6 separate regions of the Homo sapiens genome follow, and all the other regions are linked to region 4. The links are contacts of gene promoters, found by promoter capture Hi-C in blood cells and fetal thymus (Javierre and others, 2016). All regions are on one chromosome and are shown on one strand. The core of a region is centred on a gene start or on the middle of the fragment in contact, and the rest is flanking DNA. Distances in the headings are between cores, read along the strand shown.

Region 1 (2,700 bases), core at 188-2,687, 990 kb after region 4:
ACCTCCCTGGGCTCAGGTGATTCTCCCAGGTCAACTCCCAGGTAACTGGGACTACAGGCACATGCCACCATGCCTGGCTAATTTTTGTATTTTTTGTAGAGGTGGGGCTTCACCACATTGCCCAGGCTGGTCTGAAAAGTCCTGAGCTCAAGCAATCCACCTGCCTTGGCCTCCCAGAGTGCTGGGATGACAGGCATAAATGGCCTGCTTTTAATTTTTAATTCAACTCTGTAAGAATAAATTTTATCTTAATAAAGATAGCTAACATTATTATTTACTATGTGAGATACTCTACTTTTAAACATTATCTTTCAATCAGCTCAATTCCACAAGGTGGACTAATTCTGCAGCCCATGCTGTTCACTATACTGTTTTCCAGTTTCATACACATTGTTAATGCCTATCCTTAAATTCATGTTCCTTTTCATTATACCTTACTGTTTCCAACTTAAGAACTATATAAATAATCAGGTAAATATACTTTCCAGTGATTGCATATTTTTGGATAACATTAGTGATGTTTAGCAGAGTCCCCTTGAATATTAAAATATTTATATATTAATTAACTTTGTCATTTAAATGTTAAGTTTAAGCATGTAGAAAAATACCTAGAAAATACATATATTGTATAAAAGTGAATTACAATAGGGAAAGATTGACTATTGGAATGGCAGTGTGAGGACCACATGAACTTGCTCTCCCAGAGCCCCCAAAAAGAACAACAACAAAAATACTGGCCAACCATATAATATCCACCATTTCAGAACTCTGGAAATTAACCAAAGCCACAGAATGGACTGAGTATTGTCTATTCTAAGGAAAACTACTGATCCTTGATAAGACACCGAATCTATGGCATTTTTATCTTGGAGCAATTCCCATCCTGCCCCCCTTCTCAACTGAGTAGTGCAGTAGCCATGGAAAGCCAGCGGCTTCACAGCCAATGGATATGACTGACCTCCTTGGAGCTGCATGAAAATCTCCATCCCTATTACTATCAACATTTTGTCTGAACTAGCAGCTCCCTGGAAAATCTTCATTCTCAGCATCTTGGCTATTTCATTTGACTAGGGCATTACCAAAAACAACAGTAATCTGCTGGCAACATCTCAGCTACCTAAGCATGTGATTAAAGGTGGAGGAAACAAGATCCTGATCAAAATATAAGAGGAATTCTTAGAAAACTGGAAAACATACGCAGCTTTGAAAAGCTACAACATATTTTTGGGGATCTAGAAGACTTTGCAAATTCCTAGAAAGGAAAACACCTCATTCAAATAATCAGCTCCCTTCTGCTTCACCATGAAGCCCTGCGTAAGCAGGAAATGAAAACTAAGGCTGTCATTTTCTGAACTTTGAAGGCATGCCTTCACACACAAATCACTTTGACAAAGGGTGGGAGATGTACAGGCAAGAGATTTAGGGAAATCTTACAACAAATCACTGGCTGACCACTAAATAATACTGACCCAGGTATGCCAAGTAGGAAGCCAGATGTAGAATAAAAACTTTAAAAATAAAAATTAAAAAGACCCTGGGGCAACTGCTGCAGGGAATACAGAATCCACAGAATTCACTACATGAAAAAAAAAAAAAAGTCACTAAACAAATAAACAGTAACAAAACAACAAACCCTTGGGTGGGGTTAAGCGATACCAGAGTTATCAATATTATCTTAAAAGTCCAGTTTTCAACAAAAATTATAAGACATACAAAGAAACAGGAAAGTAGGCTAATACACATCTCTTTAAAAAAATAAAAAGACAACAGAAAATGTGCCTACAGGGCCAGATGCTTTACTTAATTGGTGTGTGTGTGTGTGTATGTGTGTGTGTGTGTGTGTGTGTGTGTGTGTGTGTGTGTAGTTGAGCTTCTTTCACGTGTTTATTGACCATTTTCATGGCTAATAACTATTAGTCATTTGGGAAATGCAAGTAAAAACCATAATGAGATACCACTTCACAACCATGAGCATGGCTATAATACAAAAGACACAACAAAAAGTGTTATTGAGGATGTGGAAAAATTTGAACCATTATCCATTGCTGGTGGGAACATAAAATGGTGCAGGTACTTTGGAAACAGTTCGATAGTTCCTAATGATGTTAAACACTTAGCTACATAATCAAAAGAAAGGAAAACAAGAGTGAATACAAAAATAAACCTGTATATGAATGTTCACAGCAGTATTTTCATAGTAACCAAAAATGGAAATGACTGAAATGTCCATCAATTAATGAAATTAATTAATGAAACAAAATGTATATATAACAAAGTGGAGTATTATTTGGCAAGTAACAGTAATAAAGTATGGAAACATGCTACCATATAGATGAACCTTGAAAACATGCTAAGTGAAAGAAGCCAGTCACAAAAGACCACATTGTATGATTGCATTTATATGAAATCTTCAGAATAGGCAAATCTATTGAGTCAGAAAGCAGATTAGTGATTACATACAGCTGGAAGTGTGCAGGTTGGAAACAGACATGGCTTCTCATGTGTATGGAGTTTCTTTCTCAAGTGATAAAAATGTTCTAAGATTAGATTGTGGTGATGGCTGAACAATTCTTTGAATATACTCAAAACCACTTAACTGTACACTTTAAACGGGTGATGTGTATGGTATGTGAATTATATCTCAGTAACGCTGTTTTCTTTAAAAAGTGAATCATTGGCTGAGCACGGTGGGTCACGCCT
Region 2 (2,700 bases), core at 120-2,619, 900 kb after region 4:
TATACTAAAAGTTCTGTTTTATACTCTTAAAATAGAATGTGATTGAACTGTCTATACTTGTGAGTTTTGCTGACTAGCATGAGGGCCTGCGACTCCACTGCTTTCCATGCTCAAGTCTGCAAGTTCTTCCCTCGCACAGAGGTCCCCAGCCAGGTAGAACGGATGGGAATCAGAGCATAGGGTTTTTGTAACATTGATAAGATATTCCAATTCCCAGTTGTAATAATAATAATAATAATAATAATATGCTAAAGAGAGTAGGCAGTTCTCAGGGTGAGGCAAAAGAAGGTCTGACTTTTTTTATATTGATCATTTAGAAATTATCCACGTGGGAAAATGTATGCATATAATTTAGGGTCCCAAGTTCTTCCTTGGCATTTATTCATTTACATTTTTTTTAATTACAAAAACAAGATATTAGAGATGGGGAAAATCTCAAAAGGCATCTTGCCCAAGTCTAACCTAATGCAACATCTTAGCTTCTGCTTGAATGCTTTGTACTAAAGGAGACCTCACCTCCTCATAATGCAACACAGACTTCTTTTATGATCAGTTTAGTTGTTAGAAAACTCAAGTCAAAATGTGCATATTTAGTTAGTTCTGTCCATTGATACTCATGTCTGGTGTATAGTAGGCCCTTTATAGGTATCTGTTGAATTTTTTAAAAATTGTTCCAATAAAATTACTCTAGTTTTTATTGTTAAAGCACACCCTAACGCAGGGGTCCCAAACCCCAGGCTGCAGACCAGTACTAGTCTGAGACCTATTAGGAACCAGGCCGCACGACAGGAGGTGAACGGCCGGAGGGCGAGCAAAGCTTCCCCTGTATTTATAGCCACACCCCATCACTGGCATTACCGCCTGAGCTCTGTCTCCTGTCAGAGCAGCAGTAGCATTAGATTCTCATAGGAGCACGACGCCTATTGTGAACTGCACATGTGAGGGATCTAGGTTGTGTGCTCCTTATGAGAATCTAACTAATGCCTGATGATCTGAGGTGGAACAATCCTGAAACCATCACCCATCTAACCCCCATCTGTGAAAAAATTGCCCTTCTTCTGCAAAACCCATCTGTGGTGCCAGAAAGGTTGGGGACCACTGCCCTAACTTATAATCATAATAACAGAATACTCAGAACACATCATGGTCCTGCTCAGGAAAATGTAGCCTTTACATCATTAAATAGTGAGACAGCAAACTACCTGACAGTGAAATGACATGTCTGAGCCCTTCTTTAAAGTAATCCAGGGATGTGGAAGCTAGGTATACATGAAACAAGGTTGGCCATGTGTTGTTGACAGTTTTTCAAATTGTGAGAAATGTGTGTGAGGTTCATTCTGCTATTTTCAGTTTTATATATGTTTATACTTTTGTTTGAAATGTTCTGTAGTAAAAAGTTAAAACAGAAAACTGAAGAGAGTCTTGAGAATCTCTAATCTGGAGTTTAAGAATCCCTGGCCTTCAACTTACCACCCTAAATCAGGACAAGTCACCCTGCAGTCTCAGTAACATTATCCTGAGGAGAGGATTCTCCACACATCTCCAAGCTGAGACCCATAGATAGCCAATTTGGTGCAGGAGGTTTTAGTTTTAGAAAACAGGATAACTTTGCATTAAAGATATTAACATAAATATTAATAATGTAATTTACAGAAAGGTCACAGGAAATGAGATCCCAATTTAAAGCAATCATTTGGAAGAAAAATAACCTTCTAGTTGTTTTGAGATGCCCTTCCACTCTTTCCTTTGATTATCGGTTGTTTGCCTTAAGTCAGTTACTAGCACGTAATTACCCTTCACAGCCATCGGCAATGTCCACAGCTGATTTTGCTCTTAAATTATTCTGTTACTCTAATCTCAAACCAGCCTATACTAAATGCCACTGTTTTTCAGTTAAGGAAATTGGGGATACTTAAGCTTTTATATGTGGCCATGGCAATGTAAACTGCCCTTCTGCTTCTCTTACGCACAGCACAGCAGATCCACAGCACTTACATGAAGACGGGGACCTTGCGTATTACAGAATTGTGGGGTCCCCTCTCCCCTGAATCAAGACTAGTTACTAGCTCTCATCTTTTATTGTTATTCCTGTCAGATACACTTGGAGGTTCTGAATCTTAATTCTAGTCTAGAACTTAACTCATTTCTAACAAACCTGGATGAACCCTGTTTCCCCTAGGACTTTTAAAATTGTAACAGTATCTTCACCTTTGTTTACCAAACAAGATGAGACCTTTCCTTTGGGAAAGCTTTCTTTTTTCTTTTTTCTCCAAAAGCAGATACTTAATGGGAAAGCTTTTATTCCCCTTGCCTGCCTCTGGGTTTTGTTGAAATAATATGGAAGTTTAATTTCTGGATGATTAATTTTGTTTTACTTTTTGTGCCTTCCATTTTATAAATCCTTTCTTAATAATTCACAACCATATTATCAGTAATAAACAAATTTTACCAGCCTTATTGCCACCTTTTTTCTTATACACCACATTTTCCCCTATTTCTTTTGGTGAAGTATTTTCTCAAGTTATTTTCAGAAAAATTGTACTTAGGTTAATATATTTTCTGAGTACTAGTATGTCTTAAAATATCTTTCTCTTGCTCTTACTGTTAACACTAAGTTCGCTATTACAGAATTTTATAAACATTGCTCTATTTTCTTCTTGCATATAGCGTAGTCCCCACTTATCCACAGTTTCACTTTCT
Region 3 (2,700 bases), core at 53-2,552, 970 kb after region 4:
TATTCAGTCACAAAAACATGAAACGTGCAACAATATGATGAACCATACTAAACTATTCTAAGCGAATACAGCCAGACACAAAAGGCCACATATTGTCCAACTTCATTTATATGAAAGGTCCAGAATAGGCAACTTCATAGAGGTAGAAAGGACAGTAGTGGTTACCAGGGGCTGGAGGGAGGAAGAAATGGGAACTAAGTGCTCTTGGGTGTGGGGTTTTTTTTGTGGTAATGAAAATATTCTGGAATTGGTGTCAGTTGCACAGCCTTGTCAGTGTACTAAAAACCACTGAATTGTACACTGTAAACTGGTGGGTTTTGTGGTATGTGAATTATATACCAATTTAACACAAAAGAAGAAACATAAAAACTACTCACATTCTAAATGTATAACTGGGAAGTAGGCTGACAAGAGCTTGAACCAGGGTTCCAATTTCTTCATTTATTCCAAAAAAGAAATTAGAAGAACCTTCATTAAAAACTGTTTATGGGGCTGGGTGTGGTGGCTAAAGCCTGTAATCCCAGCACTTTAGAAGGCTGAGGCAGGTGGATCACTGAGGTTGGGAGTTCAAGACCAGCTTGGCCAACATGGCAAAACCCTGCCTCTACTAAAAATACAAAAATTAGCTGGGCATGGTGGCACACACTTCTAATCCCAGCTACTTGGGAGGCTAAGGCAGGAGCATCGCTTAAACCCAGGAAGTGGAGGTTGCAGTGAGCCAAGATAGCGCCACTGCACTGCTTTGTAGTTTACAAAGCACTTTTTTTGTATTTTTTTTTTCTTATTATACTTTAAGTTTTAGGGTACATGTGCACAATGTGCAGGTTAGTTACGTATGTATACATGTGACATGCTGATGCGCTGCACCCACTAACTCGTCATCTAGCATTAGGTATATCTCCCAATGCTATCCCTCCCCCCTCCCCCCTCCCCCCACCCCACAACAGTCCCCAGAGTATGATGTTTCCCTTCCTCTGTCCATGTGTTCTCATTGTTCAATTCCCACCTATGAGTGAGAATATGCGGTGTTTGGTTTTTTGTTCTTGCAATAGTTTACTGAGAATGATGATTTCCAATTTCATCCATGTCCCTACAAAGGACATGAACTCATCATTTTTTATGACTGCATAGTATTCCATGGTGTATATGTGCCACATTTTCTTAATCCAGTCTATCATTGTTGGACATTTGGGTTGGTTCCAAGTCTTTGCTATAGTGAATAATGCCGCAATAAACATACGTGCACATGTGTCTTTATAGTAGCATGATTTATAGTCCTTTGGGTATATACCCAGTAATGGGACGGCTGGGTCAAATGGTATTTCTAGTTCTAGATCCCTGAGGAATCGCCACACTGACTTCCACAATGGTTGAACTAGTTTACAGTCCCACCAACAGTGTAAAAGTGTTCCTATTTCTCCACATCCTCTCCAGCACCTGTTGTTTCCTGACTTTTTAATGATTGCCATTCTAACTGGTGTGAGATGGTATCTCACTGTGGTTTTGATTTGCATTTCTCTGATAGCCAGTGATGATGAGCATTTTTTCATGTGTTTTTTGGCTGCATAAATGTCTTCTTTTGAGAAGTGTCTGTTCATGTCCTTCGCCCACTTTTTGATGTGGTTGTTTGTTTTTTTCTTGTAAATTTGTTTGAGTTCATTGTAGATTCTGGATATTAGCCCTTTGTCAGATGAGTAGGTTGCGAAGATTTTCTCCCATTTTGTAGGTTGCCTGTTCACTCTGATGGTAGTTTCTTTTGCTGTGCAGAAGCTCTTTGGTTTAATTAGATCCCATTTGTCAATTTTGGCTTTTGTTGCCATTGCTTTTGGTGTTTTAGACAGGAAGTGCTTGCCCATGCCTATGTCCTGAATGGTAATGCCTAGGTTTTCTTCTAGGGTTTTTATGGTTTTAGGTCTAATGTTTAAGTCTTTAATCCATCTTGAATTGATTTTTGTATAAGGTGTAAGGAAGGGATCCAGTTTCAGCTTTCTAAATATGGCTAGCCAGTTTTCCCAGCACCATTTATTAAATAGGGAATCCTTTCCCCATTGCTTGTTTTTCTCAGGTTTGTCAAAGATGAGATAGTTGTAGATATGCGGCATTATTTCTGAGGGCTCTGTTCTGTTCCATTGATCTATATCTCTGTTTTGGTACCAGTACCATGCTGTTTTGGTTACTGTAGCCTTGTAGTATAGTTTGAAGTCAGGTAGCATGATGCCTCCAGCTTTGTTCTTTTGGCTTAGGATTGACTTGGCGATGCGGGCTCTTTTTTGTTTCCATATGAACGTTAAAGTAGTTTTTTCCAATTCTGTGAAGAAAGTCATTGGTAGCTTGATGGGGATGGCATTGAATCTGTAAATTACCTTGGGCAGTATGGCCATTTTCACAATATTTATTCTTCCTACCCATGAGCATGGAATGTTCTTCCATTTGTTTGTATCCTCTTTTATTTCCTTGAGCAGTGGTTTGTAGTTCTCCTTGAAGAGGTCCTTCACATCCCTTGTAAGTTGGATTCCTAGGTATTTGATTCTCTTTGAAGCAATTGTGAATGGGAGTTCACTCATGATTTGGCTCTCTGTTTGTCTGTTACTGGTGTATAAGAATGCTTGTGATTTTTGTACATTGATTTTGTATCCTGAGACTTTGCTGAAGTTGCTTATCAGCTTAAGGAGATTTTGGGCTGAGACAATGGGATTTTCT
Region 4 (2,700 bases), core at 192-2,691:
AATCTTCTTGCGTAGCGCCCAATACTGTTTGTCTGGGTGGAAATCCATCTCCGCCCAGCCTTTCATGGAGATAGAGGAAAACTGATCGGCATTCTTCCTCCATAAACTTGACAGCACTTGACTCCGTTTGGAAGATTGTGGAAGCGAGTCTTTGCTGTGTTTATGAGACCCCCGGGGTTGTTGCGAAGATCAAGTGATAAAGAGGATGAAGAATTTTGCGATACACAAAGGGCTCCAGAAATGTCGAGTGATATTATTAGCAGTGATTTGCATTCATGAAGGGAAGAATGGACGGAAATTAAATGGAACACTTTGGACACGTGTAAGGAAACTGCTGTCGGTCTAGCTCACTCCCCAGGCCGGGGAGCCTTCCTGGGAGGACCCATTTTCCTACACAGCTGCCCACAGCCCCTCTCCATTTCCACCTCCCTCTAGGTAGGAAGGGAACTCAGGTTGGGCAAAGGCGGTGAATTCGCATCTCCAGGAAGCGGCGGGGCCGGAAGGCAGCCAGCAGGGGGCGGCATTGCGCAGGACAGGAGAAGGTAGCGGCCAAGTTCCTCATGAAATCCACGTGCGTGAGGCTGGGAAGGTCCTCTAAGATGTTTAAATAACCCTTAAAGCGGAATCAAGATTTGTTTTTTTCTGCAGTTAGAGAGTTTGCTCCCTCCCAGCCGGCTCGCTGAGCGCTGTGGAACCCTTCGGCTGGGCTCCCCTGAAATCGGGCGCTTGTTCTGGGACAGGCGCAGAAGGGACCCCGGGAATCACGCTTGCGCTCGGGATGTGCAGGGTTCCAAGGGTGACACAGGGGAACTTTTCTATGCAAGGGCTAGCTGCTAGTGCAGGTCTCAGACTTACCTTCCGTTCATTTCAAGACAAATTGAGCTCAAATTACCCTTTTCTTTTTCGTTAAATGAATGGGGAATGAATGAATGAGATTTTCTGTTTTGAAGATGAGGCTCATCTCCCCTCCCCTCGCCTCCCCTGCCCTCCCCTACCCCTGCCCTCCCCTACCCCTGCCCTCCCCTCCCCTCCCTTCCCTTCCCCTGATCCCAAAGTTGATTCCCGGTTGCAGGAACACAGCGTAGAAAATTCGATGCATTCTCTCAGGAAGGAGCCTGGAGTGGGACTCAGGGGACCTGGGTGCTGGTCTCAGCCCCACGCCAGTCGTGGACAGGCTTCTGTTCCTTGGGCTTCTCGTCTGTAGAATGACGGTTGGAGAGAGGATTTTTCTCCTTCTCTTCTACAAGGATGTGCTGTGACAGCCAGGGAAGGGCTGGCCATGCACAGTGCTTTCATGCATGGGCTCTGACTGTCACCAAAGAGCCAGACCCGGCCACAGGCCATCCTGGAAGAGGGGAGAGCCCTTTAATGTGGGCAGAGGGAATGTTGGCCCGCCAGAGTTCCCTCTCAGGTGTGGTGGGAGTGGCAGTTGAATGGGGCAGTTGGAGAGGAGGACTTCAGGCGGGTGGGACAAGAGAAACTGAATCTGAGGTCCTTGGGGAGAAGCAGGCCCTGGAGTCCTGGGCAGCAGATGCCAGGCTCTGAGCCCCATGACTGCTGACCCTCCTCCCCTCCCTCTCATCCTCAGCCCAGGTAAAGCTTCATTTCCAGCCCAGGTAAAGCTTCTCCCTGTAACAATTAGTGGCCACCATTTAGTCCCAAGGGCCTTTGTTTCTCATCCTCAGGACAGGCTGTGTGTGTGTGTGGTGGGGGGTTTGGGGGAGGTGACACCACTGAATGGGGCTGCCCAAGTGGGAGGCAGCAGGGACGAGGCTCCCAGAAGAAAGGCAGCCCCTCTTCCACTTTTGGAGCCCCCGCTATCATAAAAGAAAAGGCAGAAATGCCAAGACGCGATTTCAAAATCTCTGAAATACAAAAGCCTACATTGAATATTTTAAGTCTTTTCCCACACATGCACAAACACAAACACATATACAGGGTAGTGTTCACAATTTAATTATGGGATTTATACCTCCCCCCCAAAAAAAAAGACCTGGAAAGCTTTACTGCAGTTCTCATATGAGGTTTTCATCTTTCTTTCTTTTTTTTTTTTTTTTAACTTTTAAATATATTATTTTCCTGGGAGGGTAGATTTGAATTGCTCTGAATCCAGGCTCTGCATCCTTCTTTGATCGTGTCGGAATGTGTCTGTAACTGGATGGATGACCTCTTTTGGAGATGCCATCACTGGCCACTGTTTTAGGCCTTCTGGGAGATGAGGGTACTTGAGCAAAAGCACCCCCACTTCCCTTCCCACACCCCCAGCTTGGTGCTGTCCCCTGCATGCACTTCCCTCTGCCACCTCTCTGCCTCTCCCTGCCTCCCAACCCCAGTCCCTCATCACTCACAGGGCTTTCTGATCTGGCTGCCACAGGTGCCTGGGACCTGGGGACAGACAGGAGAGGTGCGGTGCAGGCAGGGCCTGGGAGAGCTCCCCAGTGTCTCCTCTGTGCTGGAGGCCAGTCAGGCCCTGGAGGAAGGGGCTGTGGGAGTTGGGGGAGACCATCAGATATTGATAACTTTGGTGGCTTTAAATTAACAATGGATTTATTAAGAAAGAAGTAGGGCTGTAGTCTCATACCTGGGAAAAATTTTATGACTAAAGGTGTGCCTGCTTTTGGTTGATGGAGGAACTCCCATCATGAGCACCAAGGAAGACCCAGAGTCCAGTTCTCAAACATAAAGTTGTTAATTTTCTGG
Region 5 (2,700 bases), core at 185-2,684, 690 kb after region 4:
ACGCCCAGGTAATTTTTGTATTTTTAGTAGAGATGGGGTTTTACCAGGTTGGCCAGGCTGGTCTCGAACTCCTGACCTCAGGTGATCCGCCCGCCTCGGCCTCCCAAAGTGCTGGGATTACAGGCGTGAGCCACCGCGCCCGTCCGAAAATAATTTCTTAATATCAATGCAAGTGCAAAGTTAATTTTCCTAGCTAACACCTTTCACACCCACCCCCAATAATGACACTTCATCAATTCTTTAAAAGGGAAGCTCCTTAGCTGAAAACCTGCATTCCGCCTTTCACCTTTCCTGTTTAAGTGCATGCCTTTTGTTCAAGATTATATCCAGCCAACCAGGAATACAGGAAGTTTTAATAACGCCACAAGTCATGACGTTGCAATTTGAACAAGTCAGTTCGGGACACTTGGAACTGTTAAAACTGCCTGCAAGGCACCTTCTGACCTCTATGCTTTCGGGTTTGGAAACCACACAACCTGGGGCCACTTAAGAAGCCCTTTTCTTTCTGGGCCCTAACTATACTCTTCAATATCTGAGGCCCAGTCTCCTTCAGTTTCTGCTAGATAGATGACAGGTCTACTGCTTAGAACCTGTGGGGAATGTAAAAGGGATATAAGACATAAAGCAAGGAGCCCAGACGCCGGCTTTCTGCAGCCAGATCGTAGTTACATCTGACTTGGTCTGATTAAGCTATCTGACTTTTGCAGAGAACATTCACAGGAAAGACACATTCACAGGGAAGACACATTCCCTTTCCCAGGAATGTGCCGCCGCCCGATTTTTAAGTTAGAAGACTCTAAGGGAAGTCCGGACCGCTGCCTACTTTCCGAGTGGGGCTCACAAGCGGAATAGAGTCGGGGGCACACGCAGAGTGGAGCTGGCTCTGCCACCTAATTTTTAGAGGTGGAGGAAGATATTAGAAACAAGGCCAGGGCCGCCACCTGCTTTCTAAGGAGGAACTCGGGGCACAGGTTCATTCCCAGGGCCCCCACCTGCCTCCCGCCAAGGCGCTTGAGGCGAAGCACCACCCAAGGTACTCGGGTGGGGGGCGGCGCCCCAGCCAGCCAAACCTGAGCGCTTGGTCCGAGCTCTTCGCTCCAAGACCTTCCAGCTCACTTCTGCCGTGAGTCCCGCCGCCCCCGCCATCGCGCTCCGGTCGCCGCCTTGGCCACCGCCCCCGGGGCCGCCTGTCAGCAATGCCGGGCCACGCCCCCCGCACGACACTGTCGGGAGGCGCGCCTGCCGGAAGTGAGCGTGAGGGCGGCTTTCACCCTAGCTCCACTGCTTTTTTAGCGTCGGAAGGGCAGCCCTAGTGGGAGAGAGAAAAAGGAGCCGGCAGCGGCTCTTACGCGTCCCGGGGCTGCGCGCCACTCTCTCGGCCGGTAACGCGGTGCTTTGCGGCTGTCGTCAAGCGCGGCGTTGGGCCGGCGGGCGGGGGCTGAGGGGCTGCCATGGCGGCGGCGGGCCGGCTCCCGAGCTCCTGGGCCCTCTTCTCGCCGCTCCTCGCAGGGCTTGCACTACTGGGAGTCGGGCCGGTCCCAGCGCGGGCGCTGCACAACGTCACGGCCGAGCTCTTTGGGGCCGAGGCCTGGGGCACCCTTGCGGCTTTCGGGGACCTCAACTCCGACAAGCAGACGGATCTCTTCGTGCTGCGGGAAAGTCAGTGCTTGCCGGGCCCTCCCTCTGTTCGCTGTCCGTGTGCCTCTCCCGGTGTTCCCCAAACCCATTGCCCAATGGCCGGTCCTTCTGCATTTCCTGGTCCTTCTCTCCCAGCCCTGTGGCCTTCCCTTTAGCATTCTTAACAGCTTGTCCTTTTGCACCACCCTTTCCAACCCCAGGTTCTGACCCAGCTACCCTACAGTTTGACCTACCCTCAAAAGCCCTGACAGCACCTCAGTTTTGTTCCTAAGAAGTCTGCGGCCCTCACCCAGTCACCTTACCCCCTCCTCCCCATGGAATCACCTGTTTTCCAAAGTGCTTCCTGATTCCTAGGAATCTTTGTAGCTTGCCTCAACGTTCGCTCCCAAGGCCCACTCATTCCTTTCTATTTTGCTTCAGTCTTCCTTCCCCGTTGATGAACATGAAAAGGTGCAACCTGACAATCTCTTCTCATAGGGGGCTTCTTCTTGCCTCCCCACCTACCTAATTCGCCCACCCCTTTCTTTGTCAAGGCCACAACTTTCTATGAAGCGAATGTACCCTTCCAAGGGCCTAAACACTAAACAGCTCACACAAGCATTTTGCAGGGACCACTGATAAACCCAATGCCTCCTTGGGAAAGCAGTCTCAAACTACAGAAATTTCTCTCTTGAGCTGCCTGTTCTTTCGTGTACTCCTTCCTCATCTTGGTCATCACCTTAGTGTTCCAAATGTCTACTTTCTTTGCTAACTTGTTCTTGGAAATTCTTTGCTTTGACAATCGTTAAACTAACTTTTTTGTAAATCTTGATGCTGACAGTGGGCATTAGGGGGTCTTAGGGTTCTTGAGTACCTACAGAAGCAGGTGCTGCTTAAAGATCAATGCTGTGAAGGAAGGAAGGAAGAGCTACTCAGAGCTTGCCTGACAGGATCCTGAACCAGACTTCTTGGAGCCCTTGCGGGGATGCAGGAACCTCTTACAAACCCTGAATATTTTCCCAATCTTTTTGACTCCTCATTTTGCAGTGTACTGCCAAACCTGTTGCTGCTGTGTCCAAACTG
Region 6 (2,700 bases), core at 193-2,692, 950 kb after region 4:
GAGACTAGCCAGACCAACGTGGTGAAACCCCATCTCCACTAAAAATATAAAAATTAGCCAGGCGTGGTGGCGGGCGCCTGTAGTCGCAGCTACTCAGGGGGCTGAGGCAGGAGAGTAGCATGAACCCAGGAGGCAGAGGTTGCAGTGAGCCAAGATCATGCCACTGCACTCCAGCCTGGGCAACAAAGTTAGACTCAGATAGATAGATAGATAGATAGATAGATAGATAGATAGATAGATAGATAGATAGATAGATAATTTAATTCCAGCTGGGGAAATTGACAAACAACTATGACTCTGATTAATTAAACTGAATTGCACACTGGTTGATGATACGATCGGAGTGGATGTTCAATCTCTGTGTGTGTTCCTAGGATGAAGTCTGTTGAAGTATGGAGTTCTCACTGGTTGCTCCAATCCTGAAAGCCTGGTTACTTCCTGTAGTTAGATAACTTCTTTCACAGAAAATTTATTCAGAAGGCTAGAAGCTCATAACTTTATTAGAATAATCACAGAGCGTAGAAAACCTTGATCAATAAAAATGATCCTTTTCTCCTCTCCCAGGCTGATTATGCAGGAAATGAGGAGTTTTTACCCCCTAATTTACTTTTTCTCATCCCGATTCAGAAATACACTGACTTGCATTGAGTGCACTAAGAATCTGAGTCTGAAAATTTGTACGAATTGTCTTTGGACCAGTGGTTCTCAATCGGGTGATTTTGACTCATGGGAGACATTTGACAATGTCTGCAGGCATTTTTGATTGTCACAACTGGGAGGGTGCTACTGGCATCTAGTGGATAGAGGCCAGGAGGCTGCTAAGCAAACTATAACAGATAGAACAGCTCCCTCAACAAAAAATTATCCATCCCAAAATGTCAACAGTGCTGACTTGAGAAATCCTGATGTAGACTATAAAACTCACAAATATCACAAAACTTTATAAACTTATGAATATTCAGCTATGATTCCAAACTTCTACGGATATTTGGAAATCCTTCCCACCTTCCTATGTAAATAGTAGTATTATTTGCCAGGCATCATGTGGCATTGTAAACAGACAGATGAATTAGGAAAAGATTTGGAGAGGCAGGAGAGGTACATCTGATGGTCCTGGGACCTGTCTTTTGATAGTTTAGCAAAGTGCTGGCTCAGCATATGAGTTTAGAGAATACAACAGCCTAATAATTGAAGCTTAGTTCCTGACACTCCTCCTTTCTAACAAAGACAGTTTTCTCAGCCAGGAAGCTCTCATGTCTTCTAGATATTCCCAGTCTTCTTCCAATGTCCATATAAAATTTAAAATGCCACAAAGACTGGGGCACTTGAGTATTTTCCATGGTGCATCCTGCTGCAGTTGATGCATGCACCTTAATAATACAGGATGGTAGGGGGAAAGGGACCCAGGCATTCAGCTACTGCTCTGCCTGTCAGTGGTTCATTAAACCTTATTTTACTTTTAATACCACCTGGTACAAATGATGTGTGTATGCATACCTCCTTAGCATAACAGTCAGACAAGAAATAGTTAAAAGAGCTATAATAGAAATAAAAACAAATGTTTTAAAAACCAAAAGCTAACAAAATACGAAAGCATTTCTATTAGCTAAAATGCTGAATTTATTATCTTTAGAAGCAGTTTAGGAAGAAAAGGGAATATGATGTGTATCTTAGAAATACTCTAAGCTTATAAAGTCAGCTAGTTTTAAGGTACCTGTTGGAGTCACTGAGGGAAGGAATGACTCACAGAAATTCAAACTTTGAAATCATAAAGTAGTTGTTTTGAAATTTTTGTTATGGAAGCTTGTTACCAAGGGTGAATCTTCGGCAGGGTTGGTATAGGTGTGGTTGACAAAATTTAGCTATAACAAGTGGGCTGTCAGATGCCATGGAAAGATTTTACTGGGGATAAAAATGCTAATAATATATGTATTGGACAAAATTACATTTTTATATGGGACCATGGACAGTTTTTCTTAGCATCACCACCATATTTGGCAGGGGTGGGGACTTTTCATTTTTGTTTTAAATTGTGGTGAAATACATATAAACATAAAATATATCATCTTAACCATTTTTAAGTATACAGTTCAGTAGTACTAAGTGTATTCACACTGTGTGCAACCATCACCATCATTACTCTCCAGAGCACTTCACCTTGCAGACTTGAAACTCTGTACCCATTAAACGCTAACTCCCCATTTCCCTCCTGCTCCAGCCCATGGCATGTACCATTCTACCTTCAGTCTCTATGAATCTGAGTACTCTAGGTCAGGGGTGCCCATCCCCCAGGCCACAGACCAGTACCAATCCATGGCCTGTTAGGAACCGGGCCACATAGCAGGAGGTGAGCAGCAGGTGAGCAAGCAAAGCTTCATCTGTATTTACAGCTGCTCCCCATCAATCACATTATAGCCTGAGCTCTGCCTCCTGTCAGATCAGCCGCTGCATTAGATTCTCACAGGACCATGAACCCTATTGTGAACTGTTCGTGTAAGGGATCTGGGCTGCACGCTCCTTATGAGAATCTATGCCTGATGATCTGTCACTGTCTCCCATCACCCCCAGATGGGACTGTCTAGTTGCAGGAAGACAAGCTCAGGGCTCCCACTGATTCTACATTATGGTGAGTTGTATAATTCATTACATGTTACAATGTAATAATAATAGAAATAAAGTGCATAATAAATGTAATGTGCT

Evidence for each region. Contacts are between HindIII fragments. The CHiCAGO score rates a contact against its expected background, and 5 or more counts as called.
Region 1: a fragment that was not itself captured here is called in contact with the fragment with the promoter of ABCC12 in region 4 in 16 of 17 cell types (total B cells, naive CD4 T cells, total CD8 T cells and 13 more); the score reaches 11.9 in total B cells.
Region 2: a fragment that was not itself captured here is called in contact with the fragment with the promoter of ABCC12 in region 4 in 1 of 17 cell types (total B cells); the score reaches 5.5 in total B cells.
Region 3: a contact is called between a fragment that was not itself captured here and the fragment with the promoter of ABCC12 in region 4, in 1 of 17 cell types (erythroblasts). The highest score is 5.7, in erythroblasts.
Region 5: the fragment with the promoter of ITFG1 here is called in contact with the fragment with the promoter of ABCC12 in region 4 in 1 of 17 cell types (M2 macrophages); the score reaches 6.1 in M2 macrophages.
Region 6: a fragment that was not itself captured here is called in contact with the fragment with the promoter of ABCC12 in region 4 in 1 of 17 cell types (total B cells); the score reaches 5.5 in total B cells.

What each region holds. Positions count from the first base shown.
Region 1 is chr16:47,163,078-47,165,777 of GRCh38, reverse strand. All of the region lies in intron 14 of ITFG1 (integrin alpha FG-GAP repeat containing 1), which reads left to right. Among named protein-coding and RNA genes, the nearest start is that of ITFG1-AS1, 20 kb to the right of the region's middle. The HindIII fragment of the contact is 3,933 bases long and covers 1-2,700 here.
Region 2 is chr16:47,251,927-47,254,626 of GRCh38, reverse strand. All of the region lies in intron 12 of ITFG1 (integrin alpha FG-GAP repeat containing 1), which reads left to right. Among named protein-coding and RNA genes, the nearest start is that of ITFG1-AS2, 20 kb to the left of the region's middle. The HindIII fragment of the contact is 1,100 bases long and covers 820-1,919 here.
Region 3 is chr16:47,186,854-47,189,553 of GRCh38, reverse strand. The region is part of intron 14 of ITFG1 (integrin alpha FG-GAP repeat containing 1); the gene reads left to right. Among named protein-coding and RNA genes, the nearest start is that of ITFG1-AS1, 44 kb to the right of the region's middle. The HindIII fragment of the contact is 3,704 bases long and covers 1-2,700 here.
Region 4 is chr16:48,154,734-48,157,433 of GRCh38, reverse strand. ABCC12 (ATP binding cassette subfamily C member 12) reads left to right here and starts at 1,441. Exons shown (of 31, transcript NM_001393797.1): 1 at 1,441-1,593. The HindIII fragment of the contact is 11,154 bases long and covers 1-1,601 here.
Region 5 is chr16:47,459,797-47,462,496 of GRCh38, reverse strand. It overlaps ITFG1 (integrin alpha FG-GAP repeat containing 1), which reads left to right and starts at 1,434. Exons shown (of 18, transcript NM_030790.5): 1 at 1,434-1,659. The coding sequence starts at 1,452. PHKB (phosphorylase kinase regulatory subunit beta) reads right to left here and starts at 1,166. Exons shown (of 31, transcript NM_000293.3): 1 at 1,071-1,166. The coding sequence starts at 1,146. RefSeq lists a silencer at 1,056-1,525. The HindIII fragment of the contact is 8,409 bases long and covers 1-2,700 here.
Region 6 is chr16:47,203,386-47,206,085 of GRCh38, reverse strand. The region is part of intron 14 of ITFG1 (integrin alpha FG-GAP repeat containing 1); the gene reads left to right. Among named protein-coding and RNA genes, the nearest start is that of ITFG1-AS1, 61 kb to the right of the region's middle. The HindIII fragment of the contact is 492 bases long and covers 1,197-1,688 here.